7 separate regions of the Homo sapiens genome follow, and all the other regions are linked to region 6. Evidence: promoter capture Hi-C in 16 types of primary human blood cells and fetal thymus (Javierre and others, 2016). All regions are on one chromosome and are shown on one strand. Each heading gives the region's core, a stretch centred on a gene start or on the middle of the fragment in contact. The rest is flanking DNA. Distances are from core to core; before and after follow the strand shown. Region 1 overlaps LOC124901607 (a long non-coding RNA gene). Region 2 overlaps LOC105375220 (a long non-coding RNA gene). Region 3 overlaps LOC124901607 (a long non-coding RNA gene). Region 4 overlaps MINDY4 (MINDY lysine 48 deubiquitinase 4). Region 5 overlaps MTURN (maturin, neural progenitor differentiation regulator homolog). Region 6 holds the start of NOD1 (nucleotide binding oligomerization domain containing 1). Region 7 holds the start of LOC105375216 (a long non-coding RNA gene).

Evidence for each region. The method cuts DNA at HindIII sites, captures the fragments that hold promoters and counts their contacts. A CHiCAGO score of 5 or more calls a contact.
Region 1: a fragment that was not itself captured here is called in contact with the fragment with the promoter of NOD1 in region 6 in 10 of 17 cell types (total B cells, naive B cells, non-activated CD4 T cells and 7 more); the score reaches 18.2 in total B cells.
Region 2: a fragment that was not itself captured here is called in contact with the fragment with the promoter of NOD1 in region 6 in 6 of 17 cell types (non-activated CD4 T cells, naive CD4 T cells, activated CD4 T cells and 3 more); the score reaches 9.2 in non-activated CD4 T cells.
Region 3: a fragment that was not itself captured here is called in contact with the fragment with the promoter of NOD1 in region 6 in 9 of 17 cell types (naive B cells, total CD4 T cells, total B cells and 6 more); the score reaches 11.9 in naive B cells.
Region 4: a fragment that was not itself captured here is called in contact with the fragment with the promoter of NOD1 in region 6 in 4 of 17 cell types (activated CD4 T cells, total CD4 T cells, non-activated CD4 T cells and 1 more); the score reaches 7.3 in activated CD4 T cells.
Region 5: a fragment that was not itself captured here is called in contact with the fragment with the promoter of NOD1 in region 6 in 16 of 17 cell types (total B cells, naive B cells, naive CD4 T cells and 13 more); the score reaches 24.8 in total B cells.
Region 7: a fragment that was not itself captured here is called in contact with the fragment with the promoter of NOD1 in region 6 in 11 of 17 cell types (naive CD4 T cells, total CD4 T cells, total B cells and 8 more); the score reaches 19.7 in naive CD4 T cells.

Annotation. Positions count from the first base shown.
Region 1 is chr7:30,197,946-30,201,807 of GRCh38, forward strand. It overlaps LOC124901607 (a long non-coding RNA gene), which reads left to right. Exons shown (of 3, transcript XR_007060274.1): 1 at 1-3,862. Among named protein-coding and RNA genes, the nearest start is that of MTURN, 65 kb to the left of the region's middle. The HindIII fragment of the contact is 1,416 bases long and covers 1,504-2,919 here.
Region 2 is chr7:30,736,323-30,739,853 of GRCh38, forward strand. The region is part of intron 1 of LOC105375220 (a long non-coding RNA gene); the gene reads left to right. Among named protein-coding and RNA genes, the nearest start is that of INMT, 14 kb to the right of the region's middle. The HindIII fragment of the contact is 4,303 bases long and covers 1-3,531 here.
Region 3 is chr7:30,217,245-30,221,073 of GRCh38, forward strand. All of the region lies in intron 1 of LOC124901607 (a long non-coding RNA gene), which reads left to right. Among named protein-coding and RNA genes, the nearest start is that of ZNRF2, 65 kb to the right of the region's middle. The HindIII fragment of the contact is 981 bases long and covers 1,127-2,107 here.
Region 4 is chr7:30,778,083-30,781,647 of GRCh38, forward strand. It overlaps MINDY4 (MINDY lysine 48 deubiquitinase 4), which reads left to right. Exons shown (of 18, transcript NM_032222.3): 2 at 350-469. INMT-MINDY4 (INMT-MINDY4 readthrough (NMD candidate)) reads left to right here. Exons shown (of 20, transcript NR_037598.1): 4 at 350-469. Among named protein-coding and RNA genes, the nearest start is that of MINDY4, 8.4 kb to the left of the region's middle. The HindIII fragment of the contact is 2,741 bases long and covers 63-2,803 here.
Region 5 is chr7:30,154,517-30,158,222 of GRCh38, forward strand. MTURN (maturin, neural progenitor differentiation regulator homolog) reads left to right here. Exons shown (of 3, transcript NM_152793.3): 3 at 2,922-3,706. The coding sequence ends at 3,032. Among named protein-coding and RNA genes, the nearest start is that of MTURN, 21 kb to the left of the region's middle. The HindIII fragment of the contact is 6,470 bases long and covers 1-3,706 here.
Region 6 is chr7:30,477,095-30,480,997 of GRCh38, forward strand. It overlaps NOD1 (nucleotide binding oligomerization domain containing 1), which reads right to left and starts at 1,690. Exons shown (of 14, transcript NM_006092.4): 1 at 1,512-1,690. RefSeq lists an enhancer at 1,186-1,930 and a silencer at 1,579-1,818. The HindIII fragment of the contact is 7,069 bases long and covers 1-2,135 here.
Region 7 is chr7:30,131,647-30,135,533 of GRCh38, forward strand. It overlaps LOC105375216 (a long non-coding RNA gene), which reads right to left and starts at 3,068. Exons shown (of 3, transcript XR_927146.3): 1 at 2,958-3,068; 2 at 1,671-1,809. It overlaps MTURN (maturin, neural progenitor differentiation regulator homolog), which reads left to right and starts at 3,340. Exons shown (of 3, transcript NM_152793.3): 1 at 3,340-3,652. The coding sequence starts at 3,491. RefSeq lists silencers at 3,238-3,487, 3,258-3,635, 3,828-3,887. The HindIII fragment of the contact is 339 bases long and covers 1,179-1,517 here.

The DNA.
Region 1 (3,862 bases), core at 962-3,461, 280 kb before region 6:
CCAGAGGTGGCTCTGAATGAAAAGATGGGGTTTGTCCCATGGTGAGACTAGAAAACGACAAGCAACTGAGGATGATGTCTACTAGAGTGGGACACAAGTCGCACTTTCTCTTGGGGCAGGCATCCCACTGAAGAAAGGGGTTCCACTCAAGTCCACTGGGGGACTTCTCAGATGCATTCCTAGAGGGGTGTCCCACCTATTAGGAAGGATCTCCTGGCGTAGGGCCTTACGCTGTATGGCCAGTCCAGGCATGAGGAATGAGGGTGAAGGGAGAACTCAGCTGGAAAGCAACCTAGAAGAGGGGAGAGGAATGGGGAGACTCACTGCTCTGTGGCCACTTGAGATCACCTGATTTGGGAACACCTGGAGCAGGAAGTCTGGCTGTCTTCATGGGAGAATTTAGAGTGAGAAAGAGGTGGTCCGAGTTCCCCAGAACATGTGCAGGTTTGTCTTGGTTGAGCTTTCACCACCAATCATGCTATAAGTAAGGATTGGGGGCTTTTGACTAGAAAGGATAAGAGAGAGCCTTATTCCCTTCTGGGAAAGACAGCCAACCCTGTTTACCCCCTGGACTTCAGGCAACACCAGAGAGCAGCCCTGACCAGTTACTGTAAGTTGACAAAGGGATACTAGACGTTGGCTGCTGGAAGACTGAAAAGGAGAAACTGAACTAAGGTCCCTCATCTGATCAGGTGATGGTGGTAAGATGCTTCCACATGGACACCTTCTAGCTTCATCAGGGTATAGCCCTGCCAGAGACTGTCAGTTGTTTCTGTTTTTGTGTGCTGTCCACGAAGGGTCCCCAGTTGGAAGAGAGAAAGGGAAAGGGGAGAGAGGTCCCTGTAAGAGCCAAAGAAATATTGTAGGTGCGAATAGCTGGGGCTGGTGTCATGGGCCATAAAGGAATTTACCAAGACAGTTGTAGATAAAGAAAGGCAGATTTATTAGAGAAGCTATGAAAATACGTTGCAAGGTTGCAATGAGCAGCACAACAGAGAAGTGACTGTCTGCAAATAGGCAGGGGCTGGAGGGAAGTTTTATAGGGTCATGCTGAAGGGGGCTACATGTGGAACAATGTCATTGTGCCCACCAGTTGTTTGTGACTAGCCATCTCTCAGAAAAATTGGTCATTGTTCTCCCCAACCTGGGGCTCCTTCCTCATTGTTGCTTACTTATCTTATCAGGACTCCGTAAGACTATTTGAAATTTATAGTGAAAACTATGTATATTTCCCCATCTAGTCTAACAGGTTGTAGACTTATTTCAAAGTAACAGCAAATAACACAAATATTTTCCCAAATCCAATATTTACAGGAAATGCACCAGTCTCTGATCTGCCCCTGATGTAAGTGTCAGATGTGCTTCCAGGGCTGTGGCCCATTCCTGTGGCTGGCCAAGGGTCCAGCCTGACCAACAGAACGTTGCTGTAACTCTAGGAATGAGTGCACACTCAACCTGAGCCGGGGCTTATTGGCTGTACCTCAGGGTTGCCAGCCTTTGTCAAGCTTCCTACTTTGTGGTCCTTCTGGCCTACACTCCTACGGCAGATGGTCAGGGTCACCTTTCATGAGAAGGGAATATGTATTGGTAGCCAGGGGCCTGCATGCCATTTCTGGCACAAACACATTGCAGGTTGCAAATCCCTGCTTCACCTTTATGAAAATGGTATTGATGACCTTCAGGGCAGAGCAGTGTTTTCTTAAAGTAGCTTCTGTCCAAAGGTAATAGACATTATTTGAAAATAGGATTCTGTGATCAAATCTCTTTAGCAGGTCAACTTCTCAGAGTCTGTAATATGCAACAGTGCATCATCATACATGTCCAAGATGGGGGTATTTATAATATGCGATGTGAACTAAATTCACTTGGCCACTGAACACTCTGACCCTGATAGGTCCCAGTGATGCTGCTAGGTGGAACACGCTTTAAGGAATGTTGTGTGGCACACCTCTCTTCTTACAATATATTGTTCTGTGGCTCTGACCATCTTGGTTTGGGGTTAGAGAAAATATTAGCTTGTCTAAGCTAAGTGACTGAGAAGCAGCAATTTGCAATCATTATGGAGGCAGCAACTCATTATTCCTGTAAATTTCCAGGTAAAGAAATCAATGGCTGGGTTGTTGCCACGACTTATTTCAGAGCTGAGTTTTTCTGGCTTTGTCTAAGGTCCAAGTTGTTTCTTTTATTTATGATTTCTTTTTTGAAATACAAGCACAAACTTCAAAACCCTAAAAGATGGTGGAGACTGTGTAAAGTGCCTTAATGTCTTTCCAGGTGAAAAATCAGTAGCAAATTCATTATTACATTATTTCATCCACCTGCTATTTAGTACCCACTAGGTACTGAGGCCTACAGAACATATAAAGTTGAATAAAGCAAAATCCCTACTCTTTATTACATTCTATGCCAGCTCTGTCTGATGTCTTCAGCCATTTATGGTCTAGAAAATGTTACAGTAACACATTTATAGATAAAGGGACCCATCTGGAGATGAATGAAGTAAGTGGCTGCCACAGATTTGCTGCTGTGAGGTGAAAAACTGTTCCAAGGCAGCAGGATAAGGAAGGAAGATGATTACTTCCTTTCCACTTAATTTCAAAAGATCTGAAATAAGGGCATGGGACCCATCTCAAGATGAGTTGTTCAATAGATGTGAGGATCCAGGCTTGGAAATGTGAGCATTGTGGACAAAAGGAGGCTAACTCCACCAACAGCTCAGAGCCAGTGATTCCAGGTGATCTAAACCTCTTTGTTCACTGTTGAAGACAGCATCTCTTAGATTTCCTAAATCCCACCGTTGGGAACAGCCAAGCCAGTGTTTCATTACAATCTTGGCCCTAAAACAGCATAGTTCATCCAAGAATGACAGGGTTTTATGAACAGAAATTAGGCTTTGGACCAAGTTTGTAATAAATCTTAAGCTTCATTATATAGGTGAGGAAAAATGACCAACTGCTGGATGACAGATTTGCCATGGAGCAAGAGAATAGACTCTGTGCCATTTCAGGAAGGTTCCACGGCAGATTTTCACTGACTTGTGGGGTGACTTTCTTTGGGGGCAGTAGTGTGGAAGGAGGATAATAAAAGGCAAAGGATAAAGAGAGGAGCAGTTTGGGGTGGATGTTCCCTTCATTCACTGCTCCATCAAAATCACTTGAACCCCCAATGAATGGTAGCATTATATGATGCTTAATACATCTTAAAGGAGAAAACCAAATCATTTTTTTTCTATTCAAGTCTAATGAAGATCTATGTGAAAAATGGAGTTTTCTCTCTTACTCAAAATGAACAAAAGGTCTGTTAATAATGTTAGGATGTGACCTCACTGAGGTTAAAAATATTTGCTTATGTAAAAAATGGCAGGTAAACCATTCAGGACTAATGTAAGCAACAAGAAATATAAGAGAGAAGAGGAAATGAAAATGCAGTGGCAACAACAGACTTGGATTAACACCAGTATTTTCAAAAGAGCCCAAACAATTTCAGATTCAATAGAAACCACTTTGCCAAGGACTCCGATGCATTTCATCTATCAGCAGGCTTGCTGCCGTTTCCTAAAGAACGCCCCTGGGATCTGCCGTTTCCCCTTGGTTCCTATGCCAAAGCCAGCCCTGTTCTCTCTTCCTCATACTGTAGCCATCATTGTGTGGCCACAAAGCTGCCAGGTCGCTCTGTATGCTGCCACTGTTATAAACCACCCTCATGCACTCATGCATTTTTTTCTCCATCTGTAATGAAGGACATTACAGATCATTTATGAGATGACCATTGCTGAGCCTAAACAAGGAAACTCAGACTGGTCCTGGGTTGTTTGGTGACCTGCTGAGGCCCACAGGCCCACAGATATTTGATTTCTTTTTTG
Region 2 (3,531 bases), core at 707-3,206, 260 kb after region 6:
GTCCTTATCTGAAAAAGCTATCTGTATTTCAGTTATTTTTGTGTAGTGACAACTCACCTCAAAATAGAGGCTTAGTACATTTATGATTTCTCAGGATGCTGTGGGTTGGCTGGGCCATGCTGCGGTCAGGACAGCACAGCGGTCAGGGCTGGTTGGGCTACTCTCTGCACTCAGCTGGCATCTTGGCTGGGGCTGGGGGTCTGCAATGCCCTCATTCACATGTCTGGCAGTGACTTGATGTTGGCTGGGGCAATGGCATGGCACAGCCCTCAGTGTCCAGCAGGCCAGTCTGGGCTTTCCCACATGCTGGGTGATATGGTTTGGCTGTGTCCCCACCCAAATCTCGTCTTGAATTGTGGTTTTCATAATCCCCACAGGTCGTGGGAGGGACTGGTGGGAGGTATTTGAATCATGGGAGCAGCTACCCTCATGCTGTTCTTGTGATACTGAGTTCTCACAAGATCTGATGGTTTTATAAGGGGCTTTTCCCCCTTTTGCTCAGCACTTCGCCTTGCTGCCATCATGTGAAGAAGGACGTGTTTACTTCCCCTCCTGCCATGATTGTAAGTTTCCTGAGGCCTCCCTAGCCATACTGAACTGTGAGTCAATTAAACTTCTTTTCTTTATAAATTACCCATTCTCAGGTATGTCTTTATTAGCAGCGTGAGAATGGACTAATACGCTGAGGGCCACAGGGTTCCTAAGAGCCGCAAGGAAGGGAACAAGTCCCACTGTGAAAGCGCTTATTTTTTAATAGACTTTGTTTTTTAGAGCAGTTTTAGGTTCACAGCAACACTGAGTGGAAAGTTCAGAGATTCCTCATATGTTCCCTGTCCCCACCCCCAACTATTCACATCCCCCACCAGAGTGGTACATTTGTTATAATCAATTAACCTATGTTGACACATCATTATGACCCAAACTCCATTGTCTACACTAGGGTCCACTCTTGGTGTTGTTCATTCTATGGGTTTGGACAAATGTATAATGTCACATATCCACCATTGTGGTGTCATATAGGATAGTTTCACTAACCTAAAAATAAAAATCCTCTGTGCTCCACCTGATCATTCCTCCTTCCCCCAAACCCCTGGTAACTACTAATCTTTTACTGTCTCCATAGTTCTACCTTTTCCAGAATGTCATATAGTTGGAATCATAGAGTAAGCAGCCTTTTCAGATCAACTTCTTTCAATTAAGAAAGTTTGTTTCCTCTGTGTCTTTTCATGGCTTGATAGCTCATCGTTTTTTTAAGTCCTGAAAAATAACCCATTGTCTGGATGCACTATAGTTATGCATTTATCTGGGCAGTCCCAGATATCCTGGTTGCTTCCAGGTTGTATCAATTCATAAATACAGATGCTATAGACATTTGTGCATGAATTTTTGTGTGGACATGAGTTTTCAACTTCTTTGGGTAAATACCAAGAAGGAAGAGAGGGGACAAGCTCCAGTGTGTAAGCACTTTTCAAACCTCTGCTTGCATCACTTTTGCTAATGGCCAAAACAAGTCATGTGGTCAAGTCCAGATTAGGAACAGGGAGATGGTGGAGAGAAATAGCTCTACCTCCTAATGGAAGAAGAGGCAAAGTCATATTGCAAAGACTTGTGCCCACTGGAAAGGGAAGAATCTGTGGTCGTTTTTGCAATCGATCCCATTCTGGTACATGCTTGCTTTTTGAAGTCTTGATGTTCTGCTTAAAGCATCAAGTTGTTACATCATGGCCCATTTGCGATATAAAGAATAAAACAAAGCTATTGGACTAGATGGCTTCAGAAACTGCTTAGTTCAAAAGGTGAAGTTTGCAGCAGCAGAAGTCTATAATAAGTTTCACATATTCAATTTATTTATTCAACATGTACCATGTGCTAGGCACTAGACACAACCACAAACAAGGGAGAGCAGTTTCCTGCCTCAGAATTTCTATGTCACTGAGAGACAGAAAATAGAATAACATGTGAGATGAAGGAAATAAATGGGTGATGTGATAGTGAATGGAGAAAGAGAGGGGGAAACATCTACTCTATGTGGTAAGAGTAGGGATAGGTACCTTTTGAGCTGAGATGTGGAATATGAGGAGGGAGCCAGGAATGGAGGCTGCTAAAAAGGACCTCCCTTCTCTTCTGCTTTCTCTTTCCCTTCTTGTTTCCTGTCATCATCTCTCTATTTCTAGATCAGTGCTTCTCAGACTTTAATGTATGTATGAATCACCTGGAGAGCTTGTTAAAATGCAGATCAGATTCAGCAGGTCTGGGCTGGGACCCGAGATGCTGCATTTCTAATAAGTTCCCTGGTGATGCTGCTGCTGCTGCTCCTTGGACCACCCTTTACACAGCAAGAACCTGGAGGTGGGGTAGGTGCTGAGGCGAGATAATAGAACCAGAATCAGGGCAGTGGCGGGGCGATGAGGGCCACTAGGTGGATTTGAGAGCTGTTTAGGAGGTAATGTCAAGGCCTGGGGAAGCTGGTGGTGCAGACCAACGGTGACAGAGGAAGAGGCTAGGGTGGCAGTCATGTGTCTGGCATGGATAAGGGTTGCACAGGAGTGTCCTTGCTGGGCTGGGGAGAGGGGAGGAGAAGCAAGGCTGGGGGACCAGGAGATGGGCAGTGTGCCTTTGGACCTGCTCAGTTTGAGGGTCCTCGGGCTAGGCCAGTAGAGGCAGCTGGATACTGTAGTGGTGGGGAGAGGACAGCAAGTAGGTCTGAAATACAGAGCTGCTCTATAGATGAACTTCTAGAAGGAGTGAGTGATTCTTGGATGCTCCCAATGACATATCAATAGAGGCAGCACAGATGGCTCCGTCATGGTTCAGAAGACCTTTTCGAATCATTCAGGAGCCTAGGCCCTGAAGGATCTAGGACATCAGGGATCATCGGTCTACACTCAGACACCTTATCATACAGTCCTGCTTTACTAACAGTGTGAAGCCTGGGCTGGGGGTAGGTGGAAAGGAAGTACTTTGTGCTCTGTTCCCTTGGTACCCAGAATGGGTCTTGGATCAGCAACATCAGCATCCCTAGGGACATTTCAGAAATGCAAATTATTTGCCCCCCTCAGATCTGCAGATTCAGAATCTGCATTTTGACAGACTCCCAAGTAATTCGTGAGCTCAGTACAGTTTGAGAAGCACCAGCCCAGGCCAGCAGTTCTCAATCTTCCATACATTTGAATCACCAGGGGAGCTTTACAAGGTGCTGATGCCTGGGTGGCATCTCCAAGAATTTCTGATCTAATTGGTCTGGGGTAAGGCCAAGGATTCAGGACTTTTACAGCTGCCTAGGTAAGTCTAATGCATATCCAGGGTGAAAACCCCTGCCCTGGCACCACCCAACCTTTGACTGACTACAGCTGGCGATATTGAAGGTGAATGACATTGTAGAAGTAACTTTGCATCTTTGGGCCTCAAGTTGGAAACCTGCAACCCCTCTAACTACCCCCATCCCCATTCCCATGTGCCTGGTGGGAGCCTGGAGGAGGGCAGGCAATGTGGGAGGGTTCTGGGCAGTCCTAGAAAACTCAGCCGTAAAGA
Region 3 (3,829 bases), core at 367-2,866, 260 kb before region 6:
CTATGTTGTCTATAAGAAACTCACTTTAAATATAAAGACACATACAGGTCAAAAGCAAAGTGATGGCTGGACATGGTGGCTCACACCTGTAATCCCAACACTTTGGGAGGCTAAGACAGGAGAATTTCTCGAGCCCAGGAGTTCAAGACCAGCCTGGGCAACATAATAAGATCCTGTCTCTACAAAGAAATTAAAAAGAAATTAGCCAGGTTTGGTGGCATGCACCTGTAGTCCCAGCTACTTGGGGGGCTGAGGTGGGAGTCGGGGAGGTCCAGGCTGCAGTGAGCCATGATTGTGTCACTGCACTCCAGCCTGAGCAACAGAGCAAGACCCTGTCTCAAAAAACAAAAAAGAAAAATGATGGAGAAAGATATACCATGTTAACATTAATCAAAAGAAAGCTGGGGTAACTATATTAATTTCAGACTAAGTAGGGTTCAGAGCAAGGAAAATTATCAGTGATGAAGAGGGTTATTACATAATGATAAAAGGATCAATTCTTTAAGAAACAAAACAATCCTTATTGTGTATGTGCTTAACAACAAAGTATCAAAATATGTGAGGCAAAGACTGATAGAACAGCAAAAACAAATACATGAATGCATTATTATAGTCGGAGACCTCTATCAGAAATGAACATATGCAGCAGCCAGAAAATCAGTAAGGGTATAGCTTATCTCAGTGACATCATCAATCAACTGGATATAATTGACATCTATAGACTACTTCATTCAACAACAGCACGATGCACATTCTTCTCAAGCTCGCATGGAACATACACCAACATAGACCACATTCCGGGCCATGAAACACATCTTAACAATTAAAAAAAAAATAAAAATGATACAGTGTCTGCTTTCAGACCACAATGAAATTAAATTAAAATTGACAACATAAAGATACCAGGAAAATTCCCAGATACTTAGAGATTAAATAACACATTTCTAAATAACACATAGGTCAAATAAGAAATCTCAAGAGAAGTTTTAAAATATTTTTTAACTAAATGGAAATGAAAATACAACTTCTCAAAATTTATGAGATGCAGTGAAAGAAGTGCTGAGAGAGAAATGTATAGCATTGAATGCATATTTAGAAGAGAAAAAAGATCAAAATCAATAATCTAAGCTTCCACCTTAGGAAATTATTTAAAAAAACAAGCAAACTCAATCCAAAGTAAGCAAAGAAAAGAAATGATAGAAATTAGAGCAAACATCAATGAAATTGTAAACACAAAATCAATAGAGAAAATCAAACCATAAGCTGATTCTTTGAAAATATCAATAATAAAATTGATAAGTGTCTAAACCAGACTAATGAAGAAAAAAAAGAAATAACACAAACTACTAATATTAAAAATAAAAGGGGATATCACTACAGGTCCTGTGGATATTAAAAGAATAACAAAGGAATACTTTGAACAACTCTTCCCACAAATTTCATAAGCTGATAAAATGGATGAATTCCTTGAAAGACAAAATCTGCCAAAATTCACACAAGAAGAAATAGACAATCTGAATAGGCCTATATCTATTAAAGAAATTGAGTAACAGTTAATAACTTTCCAAAACAGAAAGTGCCAAGCCCAGGTAGGTTCATGGGTGAATTTTTCCAAAATTTAAGGAAAAAATCATACCAGTTCTCTACAATCTATTTCAGAAAATAGTGGCAGAGTGAATACTTTCTAACTCATTATATGAGGCTAGCATTACCCTCATACTAAAACCAAAGACATTACAAGGAAAGGAAACTACAGACCAACACTTCTCATAAACATAGATGCAAAAATTTTCAAAAAAATTTGGCAAATCAAATCCAACAATGTATAAAAAGAATTATACTCCATGACCAAGTGGGATTTATCTCAGGTATGCAAGTCTGGTCCAATATTCAAAAATCAATTAATGTAATTCATTACACCAAAAAGCTAAAGAAGAAAATCACATGATCGTATAAATAGATGCAGAAACAGCACCTGAAAAATTCCAACATCTATTCATGATAAAACTCTCAGCAAAGTAGGAATAGAGGGAAACTTCTTTAACTGGATAAGGAACATTTGCAAAATACCCACAGCTAGCATCACACTTAATGTTGAGAAACTAGAAGCTTTCTGCTAAGATCAGGAACAATGCAAGGATGTTCTCTTTCACCAATTATTTTCAACATCTAACTGGAAGTCCTAACTAATGCAATAAGACAAGAAAAAAAGATATATAGATTGGGAAGGAAGAAATAAAACTGCCATTGTTTGCAAATGATATAACTATGTATGTAGAAAATCTGAAAGAATTAACAAAAAACTCCTAGAACTAATAAGTGATGATAGCAAGGTTGCAAGATACAAGGTTAGTATACAAAAGTCAATCATTTTCCTAAATCCCAGCAATGAATAAGTGGAATTTGAAATTTAAAACACAATACTATTTACCCCAAAAATGAAATACTTAGGTATAAATCTAACAAATCATGCACAAGATCTACATGAGGAAGAATGCAAAACTTGGATAAAAGAAATCCTGGACGAACTTAATAAAGAGATGTTCCATGTTCATGGATAGGAAGACTCAATGTTGTCAAGATGTCAGTTCTTTCCCAACTTTATCTATAAAGTCAATGTGAAGTCAATGAAATCTTAGCAAGTTAATTTGTGGATACTGACAAACTGATCTAAAGTTTATATGGAGAGGCAAAAGACCCAGAAGTAGCAAGTCAACATTGAAGAAGAACAAAGTTGGAAGACCAACCCTATGTAATGGAAGATTTATTATAAAGCTACAGTAATCACAAAAGTGTGGTGCTAGTGAAAGAATAGACAGATAGCTCAATAAAACGGAACAGAGAGCCCAGAAATAGACCCACATAAATGTGGCTAACTGATCTCTAACACAGAAGCAAAGGCAATACAATGAAGAAAAGATAGTCTTTTCAACAAAGTGGTGCTGGAACAACTGGGTATCCACATGCAAAAATATAAATCTAGATACAAACCTTAAACCCATCACAAAAATTAACTCAAAATAGATCACAGACCTAAATGTAAAATGCAAACTATAAAACTCATAGAAGATAACATGGGAGAAAGTCTAGATGACCTTGGGTTTGGTGATGACTTTTTAGATGTAACACTAAAGGCACAATCCATGAAAGAAGAAACTGACAAAATGGACATCATTAAAATTCAAATGTTCTGCTCTGTGAAAGACACTGCTAAGAGAATAAAAGGATAAGCCATAGACTGGAAGAAAATATTTGCAAAGGCATATCTGATAAAGGACTTTATTCAAAATATATAAAAAAAAAAAACCCTTAAAACTCAACAATAAGAAAACAAACATCCTGATGTAAAAATGGGTCAAAGACTTTAATGGACACTTCACCGAAGAAGACATACAGTTAGCAAATAAGTATATGAAAAGATGTTCCACATCACGTGTCATCAGGGAAATGCAAATTAACACAAGATAACACCACCTACCTATTAGAATGGCCAAAATCCAGAATGCTGATAACACCAAATGCTGACAAGAAGTTAGAGCAACAAGAACTCTCATTCATTGCTGCTAGGAATGCAAAATGGTAGACACTTTGGAAGATGGTTTTATTACAAAAACAAATATATTCTTATCATATGATCCAGCAGTTATGCTCCTTGGTATTTACCCAAAGGAGTTGAAAACTTTCATCCACACGAAAACCTGCCCATGGATATTTACAGAAGCTTTATTCCTAATTTGCCAAAACTTGGAAGCAACCAAGATATCCTTCAGTAGGTAAGGAGATAAATAAACTGTGGTACATCCAGATAATGGAATATTATTCAGAACTA
Region 4 (3,565 bases), core at 183-2,682, 300 kb after region 6:
CTGAGAGTGAAGGGAATGAATATTAGCCTTTTGTTTACATTTTTTCTTTTGTTTAATTTTAAAGCTTCATATACTATGGTTCCAAATGTAGGGCCAAACCCAGGACTCCTGTGCGCGAGTCCTGAACTCACTCCTTATCTGCGAAATGGCCTGAAAACTTCAGCCTTCACTTAGCCCATGGGGCTGTTGTAAGAATCAGAATAATATTAATTATTGCAAAGGTGATGTCAAGTGTAAAGGTTATATGAGAATTATCTTGGTGAACATCAGGAATCGTTTGCTTGTGCTTTATGAGAACAGCGGGTTTTGATTTAAGATGGTAAACAGCGATTCAGCTTTCTTCCCTCAGGGCTTAAAGAAGACATGTGTGACCATGGACCAGGAACGCCCACGCTCTGACCTCAGCATAAACAACAGAAATGATCTTCGAAAGGTTTTGCATCTTGAATTTCTCTATAAGGAGAACAAGGTATGTGCTTTCTAAGGTGTGGTGTGGAGTCTTGGAACTGAGTTTGGCACTGCCAAAGCACTCATGGGCCCTGCCAGTGACAGGAGAGGCTTGAGGTTCTCCTGGCCTGTCACACTTGCGGTCAGAGAGAAACGGACCCCCCAAATGTGGACAGATCCCCAGCGGGAGTGGGTTTTCCATCTCGGTCAGCTGGTGCCGCCCATTGGCGTGTTGTGTGTGTGTGGTTGTCGGGCTCATTTTGAACAGAGCCTGTGGCAGTGCTCAGCCTCCCGCAGTTATTCCCTGTGCTCCCTCCTCCCAACATGAGGCTATTTTTAGTAAGACTGTACTTAAGAATATCGTATCCAGTTATACTAAAATTTTCCATGCCCTGCTTATGTAAGAGTTTCCTTCTTCAGTTCTGAGTAATACCTTAGTCTTGAGTCTCCTGTGACATATAATTTAGGTAGAGGAGGGAATTGGGTTCAGCTAACCCAGGTGCATTAGAGTTGGAAAAGCAAATGGAACTGTGTTTTCTTGGGCGGGAAGGGGGCTTCTCTGATCCCCCAGACTTGATCTCCCCCAACCTGCTATTATAGGCTTTCATGGCACCCTCTAGTTTTCCTGTTTTTGTGTTTATCACATTGGCAATAGAATATTTATGTGATTTTAAAATTAGTATCTGCCCCCCGCCAATACCTTGGACACAGCAGAAGCCAGAAATGCAGTCTTTTTTGTTCACTATTTTATCCCCAAACATAAAGTGTTGTCCGATGGCATAGTGAAATATATTTGTGGAATAAATGAATGAATGACTATACGAATGAATGAAACTACACTTTCTACTTAAATTTTTAATTTGTTATGAAGACAGAAAAAGAATGGGCTGTCCAGCAAATGTTGCTGTGTGGTTGGGCATAGTGTCAGAGTCAAAAAGAAAATGATATAGTTCAGCATTTATCACAATTTTTTAAAAAAGCAATAAAATGATATCTCATGTGGAAGTCCAATATGCAAAGCAAAGAAGGGAAAATGCCCTATTTGAAGTGGGGAAAAGGAGGTCTTGCTTTATCGTCTAGCCTCTCAGCGTCCAGCTTTAAACCACTGATCAATTCCCTTCTCTCAGGAGGGGGAGCTGTGAGCCAGAGAGAGTTGGCTATCCAAGGTCTCACAGTCGGTTACCAGGTAGGGATGAGGCTAGAACCAGGTGTTTTGATTCCCAATTCTATTGTAGGAGTGATGATCAAGCATATTTTAACTGTAATCCTTTTTTCAAATGAGACTTCAGCAGATTGGATTCGTATGGTGGTAGGACCAAGGCTATTTTTTAAGACACCCAGAAGATCCACTGAACCACTTGAAAACTACGCAAGTACATGTCATAGGCCAGGGAGGAACCTATGCCAGGCATCTCTCAATAAAGTAAAGGATGGAATTTCAGGCAAACATATAAACTAAAAACAACTGGCACCTACAGGAGCACTCAGGTTGCCAGAAATTCTCTTGCTCCCCTTTGAGGAGAAGTAGGCAATGGCAGCCCCGTGAAGTCTATCAGAGGCTCAGTGAAGACATCAAATAGAAGGCCTTTGTCCTCTGGGTCCTGGGGTGACATGCAGGCACCTCTGTCTCCTGTCCTGTAGCAAGTACTTTCTAAGTCCTGTGGAAAGACTGGTGACCCAGGCAGCAGATGCTCTGCAATCCTCCGTCTGCTGTATTCTAAGGCAGGAGAGTGGACTGTACACTTTAGGAGAATTTTGCGCAGAGAGTGAGACAACTACCCAGAAAATTCAGTTAACCATTCTGGTTACATTGGGCTTTTAACGTAAATGTACCTTACCTAATTTCCCAAAAGTGTCTTTGACATTCAAGCTATTTTTATTCCCTCATTGTAATATAGTCTCCCTAAAGTAGTTGTTATCTTAAGATACTTAAGATATTTTCATGAGATACTGATAAGTGCCCTGATTTATACAGCAGTTATTAGCTGTTATACAATGAATCGGAGTGTATATTTTACAGGAAAATTACTCATTAATATCTACTACATAATAATTTTGACATTCATTCAGCACAAAGCTCGCCTGATTCCAGGAAAGCCCTGCAATTTAATGTTAATATTTCTAGTAACTTGTTCTAACCTCTTAGGTATAGGATAGATAAAAATGCCTATGTAAATTGAGATTTTGAAAAACAATATCTAGATTCATATAAAGGCTGTGTCTGTTGTGAGCCAAGTGATGTGAAAAAGCATAAGGGATAGTCAGGCAATTCAGGGGCTTAAGTCTCTCTTACTGAGAGAAAAAGCAAGAAGGCTACAATAAATATAGGATCTTTCCCCTAACTCTCTTTATTGTAAGCTTCATTTAATCTTAGACAAAATAGTTTTTGTTTTTAATCTCTTACTGAAAAGAATAGTAAAACTGTCCCGGGTTTTGTCTGATGAATCTGTTGAGTTTGGTTGTAGTCCATGGGCTGTGGGTCTTAGTCCTGGAGTCCTGCTGCATGGATGAGAGGAGTAGGAAGGGGGAGGACTTGGCATGCCCTGAGGGCCTGCTCTGCCAGACTCCTTGTCAGGTGCCTGGCTAGTCTGCAAAATCACAGAGTGCCCCATGTCCAGCCACGGCTCGGCAAGACTGGGTGTCACTGGGCGAGTGGGTTGGGGACTGACACATGGCTGGGTCCCTGAGGCCAGCCTGCATATTGCTGCATGCATAGCTGTGTTTATCCAAATTACTTAGGGGAATTTAAATCCTTGCTGTTGTGGTGTAGTAAGTGTCAGTAAGGTGAGAGAATCTGTATTTTTAAAAAACATCCAAAGGGAATATTTGATATAGGCAAGGATGGAAAATACTGGTATCGTTTAATTCCAAAACCTACTACTGAAGACTTTCATTTGCCTTTTGTTTTTAAGGTTGGGGTGTAAAGTGAGTCAGTCCTGACTGCCTCTCTGTGCTCTTCACATTGACCTGCTTCAGTTGTCTCTATCATCGCTGGTGTCAGTGTTAGATGCAGAGCTTACAAGCTAAAAAAATATTCAGGCTGCAAATACTTATGAATCTGTAGGGTTAGTGTTCCCTACAGACTCCGTTTTTTAAATGAAGGGATATATATTTTATA
Region 5 (3,706 bases), core at 411-2,910, 320 kb before region 6:
TGCAGATCATGGCTGCCTTCAATCTCTCATGTCATCTCCATAGTTACTCTGTGAGATAGAGCAGGTATCATGGCGCTTTACAGAGAAGGACATTGAGGGTCAGCAAGGTGGTGACTTGGCAGAGGTCTCCAGCTAACTAGAGCTCTGGCCTCTGGACTCTAGTGCCAGTGTCTTTTTCCACACACCCTCTCAATAAATCTGTAGACCCTACACTAAGGTGCCTCCAAATTCCAGAAGGCCACAGAGAACTGCCTCTCCTCTCCCCTTTCCAGAAGGGCAGTGAGTGAGCAGCTCTTGAAAGAGCAGTCAGAAAACTTCCAGCCTGGGGACCTGTCAGTAGATGTGCTGGTTTCATCTGAGGTAAGGTAGGGAGCTGGAAAAAGGAACTGCAGAAGAGAGGTGGTCATGGCTATGTGCTTGGTTTCCTGGGTCTTTTTCAATAAGGTACCCTAAGCTGAAGAGAGGGAGGGTGTTGAGTGCTACCTATGGTTTGGGTCAGTATGAATCACCTAGGGGTGTTATGGAACAGAATCGCCCATGGTACATCTCTTTTGGATAAAGATGGCAAATATGCAGATGCACACCTCAGCTGCGCCCTTTTCATGCAGGACAGCCATTGCTAGTTGACCACAGTGTTTTCCACGGGGCCTCAGAATCCTGAAACTCCAGGCAGCCACTCCCTGTCAGGTCTGTTAAGTGAGAGGGAACCAACTGGTCATTTCTCTTTAGTGACATCCCTTCAATACAATGAACAATTATATATATTGTTTAGGTAATTTTGGAGTTCCTGGTGGTGGCGATAGTATTTATATTTTACCAGCTATTTAAATGTTACCACTTATTTGACACTTTTACCTTGCTATGTCATCGAGCAGCTCTCCAAATAAAAAATTGACCACCAAGTGTAGTCATCGACGTGCCTTACGACTAGTCATCTTTTCTCTCTTTAGAGGCAAACTTGGTTTTTTATTCCATTTACTAAAATCTGCAAGGGAGACAGGAGCCGGAAAAAGAGACTTTCTTCTCCCAAGCACACTCAAGATTGGAGCACCCTCTCCGGGGAGCTGAGAGCGCTCTTCCTGCCCTTCCCCTCTACATCCGCAGAGTCTCTGAGGCAGCTGTGGCATGCTCAGCTCTAAGGGGCGAGCGTGTGTCTGCAGTTGACTGTGTACGCCTTGGCAAGCCACAGGCAGAGTGTGACCAACAATGCCTAGCAGATGATTTTGTCCTGAATGTGTTCATAGGGTGCTGGGAGACCTGGGAGAGCTGCAGCTGGAGAACTTCAGAGTGAAGGCATTATTTTCATCAGGACTCTGCTTTCTCTTTCCCCATTTCAGCCGTGGAGGGAGTGAGAGAGGAAGGGGGTGGCAGGACACCAGGGAGGCAATGCAATTGAACAGAATGGTCAGTCTTCTTTTTACTGTCTTGATGCAGTTAGTGTTTAGATCATTAGGGCCACTCAGTGAAGGTGCTTGAAATTGATGGCCCTGGACACCCCTATGTAAGAAGTCCTTGGGCCACAAACAGACTGTAGATCTCATGAAGGCACCAGGAGACAGAAGCCTGGTTATCACAGGCAGGTCCGACAGCTAGGGTTGTGGCTTCTTGCCTGCACCAGGAGGTGGTGTTCATACTGATCAGGCCTAGCAAATGGCACTTGGTTTCTAACCAAAGACCAGCCAGTGCTTTAAAAAACGATGTTTATTTTGAACGTCCCACATAATTATACAGCAATTGGAAAATACAAAAAGATAAAAAGGAAAAAATTACCCATAATCTCACAATCTTAAAAAAAACCTTAAAATTGGGGTGTATTTTACTGAAGTCTTTTTTCTATGCATATGTGTATAAATTTTAAGAACTCCGGGTCAGGTGTGGTGGCTCATGCTTGTAATCCCAGCACTTTGGGAGGCCGAGGCAGGAGGATTGCTTGAGTCCAGGTGTTGGAGACCAGCTTGGGCAACATACTGAGACCCTGTCTCTATTAAAAATATATATATACATACACACATATATAAAGAAACTCTGGGTCAGGCATGGTGGCTCACGCCTGTAATCCCAGCACTTTGGGAAGCTGAGGCAGGCAGATCACAAGGTCAGAAGATCGAGACCACCCAGGCCAACATGGTGAAACCCTGTCTCTCCTAAAACTACAAAAATTAGCTGGGCATGGTGGTGTGCGTCTGTAGTCCCAGCTACTCAGGAGGTTGAGGCAGGAGAATTGCTTGAACCCGGGAATTAGAGGTTGCAGTTAGCCGAGATTGCGCCACTGCACTCCAACCTGGCAACAGAGCGAGACTCCCTCTCAAAAAAAAAAAACTCTGTCATAATAAAAGTGCAATTTTGTCATGCTTTTTTTACACTTATGTGCATCTTTTTAATGTCATCAAGTCATTCAAAAATGCCATTTTGAGTGGATATATAAGATTCCATTTCAATAACACCATAACCATTTTGCTGTTGAACATTTTAGTTGTCTCTAGATTTTTAGAAATGTGTTATAAATAATAGCACCAATAAATAATAGCACCGTGTGTTTTTAGGACAGAAAATACAGAATCAGTTTTTGACATCTTGGTGGGACAGTGAGCACAGTTCATTTCATACGACTGCTGACATCCCAGATGTGTGTGTGGGCACATAGCTAGCTCTCTGTGCATATGTGGTGCCACATTTTGATACTTAAAAATAGAGACTCTCCAGGCTCCCCAGTAAAACCTAGCCCTTTGGGCACTAATCCATTGAAAGATTGACATTTCCGTCTAACAAGTTTATGAAAATCATTGTAGGGGTGGTTGACGGGGAAGTCTGCAGCTGCTGGGTTAAGTACTCTTTAATGTGGATCCGATGCCTTTGGTTGTCTTCCTGCCTGTGGGCCATTTGGCGCTCACAGCTGCTTTTCTCTTGTTCTCTCCCTGTAGTTACTGGGGCTTCCGGATGCAGATGACGATGCGTTTGAAGAGTACAGTGCTGACGTGGAAGAAGAGGAGCCAGAGGCGGACCACCCCCAGATGGGGGTCAGCCAGCAGTAAATCTGGGGGCTCCCCTGAGAAGGAGAGTGAGCCCCACAGTAACCTAGGTGGGGTCACTGCCCCTCCTGGGTTAGCATTTTGCATTAGCACTTCGAAATAGGACATCTGGCTCCCAGCATCCAAATTAAAATGAAATACCTTTTTAACGACCACAAAATATCTGTGATGAGCTTTGCTCAGAAGTGACCTGAATTTCACTCCCGCTTCAGTGGGGTTTCTATGGAGTTGTCTTGGTAGCCTTTGCCATTTTGAATTTAGAGTCCATTTTGTGGCTGACTATTCTCTTAAGTTTATGTTGGAGAATTAACATTCGCTGACTCGAATGTAGAGAACTCTGAATGTATTAAGGATAGGTTTTGAGTCCTCACAGGTGACCTTACTGAGGGAAAGCATGGCAGAGAAGAAATGCAGTCTGCACTTTTTATGTACTTTTTAAGTGTCCGTAAGTGAAAGGTTTTGCTTATAAAGCATGAATTTTAATATCTAGTCATTAAACTGCACAAGTGCAAATACAAGGGCAGGAAAGGATAATCACTTAGCTTTGGACTAAGAGGGTAAGAGAGGCCCAGAAGCCTTTAAGTGTTTTGCCATTACTGAGTTACCTGGGTATGTAGCGACTGGTTCGTGGTTAGGTGTAAATGTTACTTGCTTGTTCGACTGTTTCAAAACATGCT
Region 6 (3,903 bases), core at 440-2,939:
CCCAAAGTCACAGCATAGAAGTGACAGAATCCGAGTTTTGACCCAGATTTGATGGGTTCCAAAGCGTGAACTTATTTCTCCACTCCACAAAAATAAAACCTACTCTTCTTACAATATTTGAAAGAGCCCTCTTCTACCACTCTGCTGTTTGTTTTAAACACAGCTTGCTTATCTGTCTGGCATATTCGGTAGAAGTCTGTACTTTGTCAATGCCTGGTTTGCCTGGATTTCAGCTACCTGGCCCCTGGCATCTAAGCCTGGGTGAGAACAGGGAATCCACTCCTCTCTAAGATGCATCGTGGAGTTACTCTTTTACTCTTCCCTGAAAGTGATAGTTCAATCTTCAACAGGGGCTTTGAGGGAGAACAAACTCGACCCTTTGGCAAGCACGACTTCTGGCTTCACCGTTTTTTTGTTTTTTGTTTGTTTGTTTGTTTTTGACGGAGTTTTGCTCTTGTTGCCCAGGCTGGAGCGCAACAGGGCGATCTCGGCTCACTGCAACCTCTGCCTCCCGGGTTCAAGCAATTCTCCTGCTTCAGCCTCCCGAGTAGCTGGGATTACAGGCATGCGCCACCACGCCCGGTTAATTTTTTTTTTTTTTTTTTTTAGTAGAGACGGTTTCACCATGTTGGGCCAGGCTGGTCTCGAACTCTCGACCTCAGGTGATCCGCCTGCCTTGGCCTCCCAAAGTGCTGGGATTACAGGCGTGAGCCACCGCGCCCGGCCCTGGCTTCACCCTTAAAGCAGAAAGGCCAGAAGTCATCAAGGCCATGGGTTTACTAGCTTAGCTTCCCCAGACTTAATTTCAAACACCAACAACCGAAATGTTTCCTAGAATGCAGAGCTAATGAGACATCAACCTCTGTCATTTCCTATGTTTTTCACAATGTGCCAAAACAACTGCACACATTGGAGGCGTTTTTGAATGTGATATTCAGGCGACCTTGCCAAGCATTGTCTCATTTCCTTACTTTGTGGAGCATGAAACCCAAGGGAAGTTCTCACCCTCTCTCCAGGACCAAGCAGGACACTGGGAGCTGCTGTCCCGTCTGCAGGCGGGACTCCATGAAGGCCCCTGTCTGCCCTTCCAGCCTTTGCCACAAACCCTCGAACGCTGGCTGCACACTGGAATCACTTGGGGAGCTTTTAAAAGATACGGAGGCCTGGGTCTGACTCCGTGAGATTCTGATGGAATTGATCTAGGGTGCAGCCTGGATATCTGGATTTTAAAAGCTCCCCAGGTGGTTCTAAGCTGCTGGCACGATTGAGAACCCCTGCGTTCGACCACAGTGGGATAAACGATTCCGCTGACTGTGAAGTTCATCCCTCTCAACTTTCGCTACATGCTTCAAACTCGCGGGTTTCTCCGCTTGGTTCCACCCAGAGCTCCTCCAGAGCCGCGCTGCGTTCCGCCCGCACGCAAATCCCGCCTCCCTGCGCCTCCTCACTCGCAGCGCCCAGGACCTCAGAAAGGGCCTGCCCCGCGCGAATCCCCAGTCGCTGGGACTTACTTGGCCACCAGGTTTACAGACTTCGCAGCCGCTGAGAGCTAGAGAAGAGCCCGGAGAGCGCCATGGTCCGGGGACGCCGGGGCCGGGAAGCGCCGTGGCCCGGGAGGACGCTGCTCCCGCAGTAGCGCGAGGGAGGGGCAGGACCGGGGCGGCTGCCTCGCGGGCCCGGAACGGGAACTGGCTGCGACTACAGCCGCAGCCGCGCCCCTCTGTTGGCGCGCCCAAGAGCCTGCCGGCTGCTGGGAGAGGCCGCCGAAGGGCGGGGGCGGTCAAGGCAGGGTCCCACGGTGCTGCCATTCGCCCGGGTCTGGCGCGGGGGGGCGAGAGAAGCTGCGCGCAGAGGGACGCCCGGTGCGAGAGGGTGAGCCCCTGGCCACCGCGCAGGGCCGAGTGGACAGGCCCAAGTTCGCCCAGAGGTGACACACTTGGGAATTTGTGGTGCCATCGTGCCAGGTCCCTCCTCGTAAAAGTGCCTACCCAGCGCCTGCAACCAGAGCCAAAGCCTGGACATGATAGGGAAACTCTTGTTAAAACGCGACACGTGGTCCTGATGAAATGGAGGTTAACGTAATCAAATTTAAATTACACTGCATACATTTCAATTTATACTTTTTAAAAAATGTAAGCTTTTCTTCCTATCCTTAAATTTGTTCTTGGCAGTGTACATTTTATGTTCTATGCATATGCTCTAATAGGTTGTAAAAGAGTTTTAACATGCTAATAAATGTCCCCAATAAAATAGTTTTAAAACGTTTTGAATGGGGATCGTGTCCATAAGGGATATCATGCTACAGAAAGTTGTCACTTACTCACACTGAAGAAGTACATTCAATCATATAGCCACTGATGCTTGTGAGTATTAAAATTCCCATCAGAGGCTGCCCTCTGAGAAACAGAAAGTATGTTCTTAAATCAAAAGTGAAAGTGCAAACTAAAGTTGATAGGATCAAATGTGCCAACTTGTGTCAGGCCTCTGAGCCCAAGCCTGCATGTATACATCCAGATGGCCTGAAGCAACTGAGGAATCACAAAGGTAGTGAAAATGGCTGGTTCCTGCCTTAACTGATGACATTACCTTGTGAAATTCCTTCTCCTGGCTCAGAAGCTCCCCCACTGAGCACTTTGTAGACCTTCCACCCCCCCGGCCCCCGCCTTGCCCACCAGAGAACAACCCCCTTTGACTGTAATTTTCCACTACCCACACAAATCCTATAAAGCTACCACACCCCTAACTCCCTTTGCTGACTCTTTTTTTCGTACTCGGCCCACCTGCACCCAGGTGAAATAAACAGCTTTATTGCTCACGCAAAGCCTTTTGGTGGTCTCTTCACACGGACACGTGTGACATTTGGTGCCGAAGACCCGGGACAGGAGGACTCCTTCAGGAGACCAGTCCCCTGTCCTCACCCTCACTCTGTGAGGAGATCCACCTATGACCTCGGGTCCTCAGACCAAACAGCCCAAGGAACATCTCACCAATTTCAAATCGGGTAAGCGGTCTTTTCACTGTCTTCTCCAGCCTCTCTCACTACCCTTAAATCTCCCTCTATTTCCAATTCCAGTTCTTTCTCCTCTCTAGTAGAGACAAAGGAGACATATTTTATCCATGGACCCAAAACTCCAGCTCCGGTCACGGACTCAGGAAAACAGTCGTCCCTTGGTGTTTAATCACTGCAGGGACACCTGCCTGATTATTCACGTACATTTCATTGGTGTCTGATCACCGTGGGGATGCCTGCCTTGGTCATTCACCCACATTCCCTTGGTGGCAAGTCAATTGTGGGTCGCCTGCTTTGGCTGCTCAGCCACATTGCAGCCCAGGGCTGCTCACCACCCCCCTTCTCCGGGTCTCTACCTTCTTTTCTCTGGGCTTGCCTCCTTCACTATGGGCAACCTTCCACCCTCCATTCCCCCTTCTTCTCCCTTAGCCTGTGTTCTCAAGAACTTAAAACCTCTTCAACTCACACCTGACCTAAAACCTAAACGCCTTATTTTCTTCTGCAATACCGTTTGACCCCAATACAGACTCAACAATGGTTCCAAATAGCCAGAAAACGGCACTTTCAATTTCTCCATCCTACATGAGCTAGATAATTATTGTCGTAAAATGGGCAAATAGTCTGAGGTGCCTGATGTCCAGGCATTCTTTTACACATTGGTCCCTTCCTAATCTCTGCTCCCAATGTGACTCATCCCAAATCTTCTTTCTCTCCTGTCTGTTCCTTCAGTCTCCACCCCAAGCTCTGAGTCCTGTGAATCCTCCTTTTCTATGGACCCATCTAACCTCTCCCCTCCTCCCCAGGCTGCTCCTCGCCAGGCTGAGCCAGGTCCCAATTCTTCCTCTGCCTCCACTCCCCCACCCTATAATCCTTCTATCACCTCACCTCCTCAC
Region 7 (3,887 bases), core at 98-2,597, 350 kb before region 6:
CGACTTCGAGGGCTCAAGGGATTCTCCCACCTCAGCCTCCCAAGTAGCTGGGACTACAGGCACATGCCACCATGCCCAGCTAATTTTTGTATTTTTAGTAGAGACAGGTTTTCACCATGTTGCCCAGGCTGGTCTCAAACTCCTGGGCTCGGTGATCCACCCACCTTGGCCTCCCAAAGTGGTGGGATTACAGGTGTGAGCCACCACGCCTGGCTGGGGAGAAGTTTTAATTTTCCTTCTACTTCCAAACCATGGCCAAAGGCTATGGGAACACAAGAAAGGGGGTATGGGTAGCCCTGGTGTTTCCTCACCTACTGGCTGCACAAAACACCTGGCTAGAGTTCTGAAATGACCACTGCCCTGTGCATGAGGCCTAAATACACCCCTACAACCTGGGATGCCTCACAGGACTCTCCCCAAACAGGAGGGAGGCAGGGCAAAGGTTTATGATCTTCTTAGCTAAGCAACTGGTGGCTTTACCAGTTGTTCTAAGGAAACAAAATTTCAAGCAACTTCTGCAGATGAACTTTCCAGGATGAATTTCAGCTGCTTTATGTGCATACCCTTTCCACTAGTTAGTAAAAATGACCAAAACACGACTGTTGCAAGACTTTTCTCTCTAAATCTGTGGTTCTCAAGTAGGGGTAATTTTGCACTCAGGGGACATTTGGCAATGTCTGGAGAAATTTTTGCTTGTCACAGTGGAGAGAGGGGAGGGTAGAGGGAGATGCTACAGGCATCCAGTGGGTGGAGGCCAGGGAATGTGGCTAAAAATCCTGCAATGTGCAGGACAGCCTCCAACAACAAAGAATTTTTGGCTTCAAATATCAATAGTGCTGCTGCTGAGAAACCCTGCTCTAAAGACTTGGAAAAAAAAATGAGATTTAGGTTCATCTGTGACCAATATTACCAGTCATATCACTCCTGAATTTCACTTTAAAAATTCATTAGCTGATCTTCTTACACATCATCCCTAAGAAGTAGATTAAGAGTAATAATGGCATTTACTGAGTTCTTACTATGTGCTAGGTTCTGGGATAAGGACTTTATATACTTTATCTCACTGTTGTCCCTGTTTTCAGAAAAGAAAACTGAGCTCCGAGCAATGAAGGAAGTTGCAGATGCACATAAAACTTAAAATGGCAGAGGGAGGAATCAATGCAGACATGGAGTTCTGAAGCTTTTGCTGTTGCTCTCAGTGCATTTCTAAGGAAACCCAACGGTATCCATTTCATTGACCAATTGCTTTGTACCCAAAATTTTATTTTTCATAAGAGTTTTTCATTTTCTGACAAAAACTATTTGTTAAATAAACATAACTTCATAATTCTGATCACATCACTTGGAGCAAATTTGACTGATACATTTTAAAACACATGGATTAAAAAAAAAACTCCTTCTTTCCCGAAAAAGGAAAAAAGGAATGTATTTTTCATATTTTCATCTCCAATTTAAGGAATTCATTTTTGGAACACATATTATGCTTTAAATGGTGGTGCCAGGTAAAACTGCAAGGAAGCTTGTGCTATCTGGAGACACCCATACTTTTTTTTTTTAAGGACCATTTTGTAACTTTACAACAGCATATTGCATTTTTATATTCATGTGCCTGTCTCCTTCATTGTCCTGTGTATTAGTTTTCTACTGCTGCATGAAGAATTTAAACAGACCTAACAGCTTAAAACAACACCCATTTAATAGCCCACAGTTCTGAAAGTCGGAAGTCCCAGCACAGCCATGGCATCACTGGGTTCTCGCTCAGGTTCTGCGAAGGCTGCAATCATGGTAATAGTCAGGCTCAGTTCTTGTCTGGAAAAGACAACAAGTTTGAGAAAAAAATCTGCTTTTCAAGCTCATTCGGGTTGTTGGCAGAATTCAGTTCCTTGCAACATTGGCCTAGGCAAATAATTTATGACTAAAACCCCAAAGGAAGTGCAACAAAAACAAGAATAGACAAATGGGCCTTAATTAAACTAAAAAGCTTCTGCACAGTAAAAGAAACAATCAACAGAGTAAATAGACAACCTACAGAATGAGAGAAAATATTTGCAAACTACGCATCTGACAAAGGACTAATATCCAGAATCTACAAGGAACTCAAACAACTCAACAAGAAAAAAAAAAAACCCATTAAAAAGTGGGCAAAGGACATGAACAGATATTTCTCAAAAAAGACATACAAGTGGCCAACGAACATATGAAAAAATGCTCAACATCCACTAATTATCAGAGAAATGCACATTAAAACCACAATGAGATACAATCTCACACCAGTCAAAATGGCTATGATTAAAAAGTCAAAAAACAGCAGATGTTGGTGAGGGTGCAGAGAAAAGGAAACATATATACGTGTTGGTGGGAATGTAAATTCGTGCACAGTGCCTGGTTCAGAAGACACACTTTACAGAAAAAAGCTGGCTGAATGTTTATAACGTGTCTGTGTTTGTAGTGTTCAAGTCCTGAGGGCGAGGACCCTAGTGCATTTTCTGCAATCCAGTAATGCCTGTCCAGTATATGGCAGCCAGTGAGCACTCAACAGGTGCAATCGTTGGGCCACACACTCTTGTTTTAAAATGTGCTTTATCCTCTTGACCTTTTTAGGTTATGCAATGTGAATTCAAGCTGAATAATACTGAAGCCAGTCTTATGAGGCTCATTTCTAAGAAATATTCAGCTTTACGTAACGCAAATAAAAAATCACACACGCCCTTTGCAAGTGAACATTCATATTAGTGTCTGATAAATGCATTAAGAAGACACATTCCCTTAAATCAATCGGAGAACAGAACTTTGGTTTCTGCAAAAAGAAAAGCTCCCTTTTCCTTAGATTTTCTCAGCTCCTCCACTGCTAGCCCCAGACAAGGTCCAAGTTATCTGCAGTTCTATGGCCTCCCTTGCATTTAAATCGCATTTGGGCAAACGCTTCCTGGGCTTTCTAACTCCACAGAAACGCTAACCAGGTATTGGGCGCTCGCACCGCTTCCAGGTAACCCGCGGAGCTGCGGATTCCAGGCTCGCGCTGTGACGTCACCGGGCTCGCAAGCCGCGGCGCGGTCTCAGGCTCCGGTGATTGGCTGGGGCCCATGACGTCACGGCCCGGGGCGGCACCGCGATGGCCAGGGCCCCGGGATGCTCCGGGTTTGTTTAAAAATAAAGGGGGGGCGGGAGCGCCCAGGAAAATCCGGGCGCCCGCGGGGGTGCCGGCCGCTCCTCCCGCCGCCCCGCGTCCCGGCCCGGCCGCGCCAACCCCCACGGCGGCCCGCAAGGGGGCGGGGGGAGGCGGGGCGGAGGAGGAGCCGCGGGCGCGGCGCCGCGCTGTCCCCGGCCGCCGCCCGCCCCACTCCGCACCGCATGTAAACAGTCCCAGCCGGCCCAGCCCGGCCCCGGAGGAGCCCGCGCAGGCCGAGCCGAGCGCCGCGCTGCCCGCCCGGGAGGAGGGCGCCTAGGAGCGGGAGGGCGGGCGGCGGCGGGAGGCGGGCGCGGGGCCGCGATGGATTTCCAGCAGCTGGCCGACGTTGCGGAGAAATGGTGCTCCAACACGCCCTTCGAGCTCATCGCCACCGAGGAGACCGAACGCAGGATGGATTTCTACGCCGACCCCGGCGTCTCCTTCTATGTGCTGTGTCCGGACAACGGCTGCGGCGACAATTTTGTGAGTGCCTGGAGGAGGGACCGCCGGAGCCGGCGGGAGTGTGGACGCGGCGGTGCGTCCCTGCGCCCGAGCTCCCGCGCGGTGGGCGGCGGTGGGCGCAGAGTGGGGGGCCGTAACCCGCGCCCCGCGCCCCGCGTGCTCCGCCGGGGAAGCCCCGGGCCGGGCGGTGCGGGCTCCGCTGCCCGGGTGGGGCCCGGTGGGCGGCGGGCAAGGCGCCCGGAGGATCCGGGGAGCC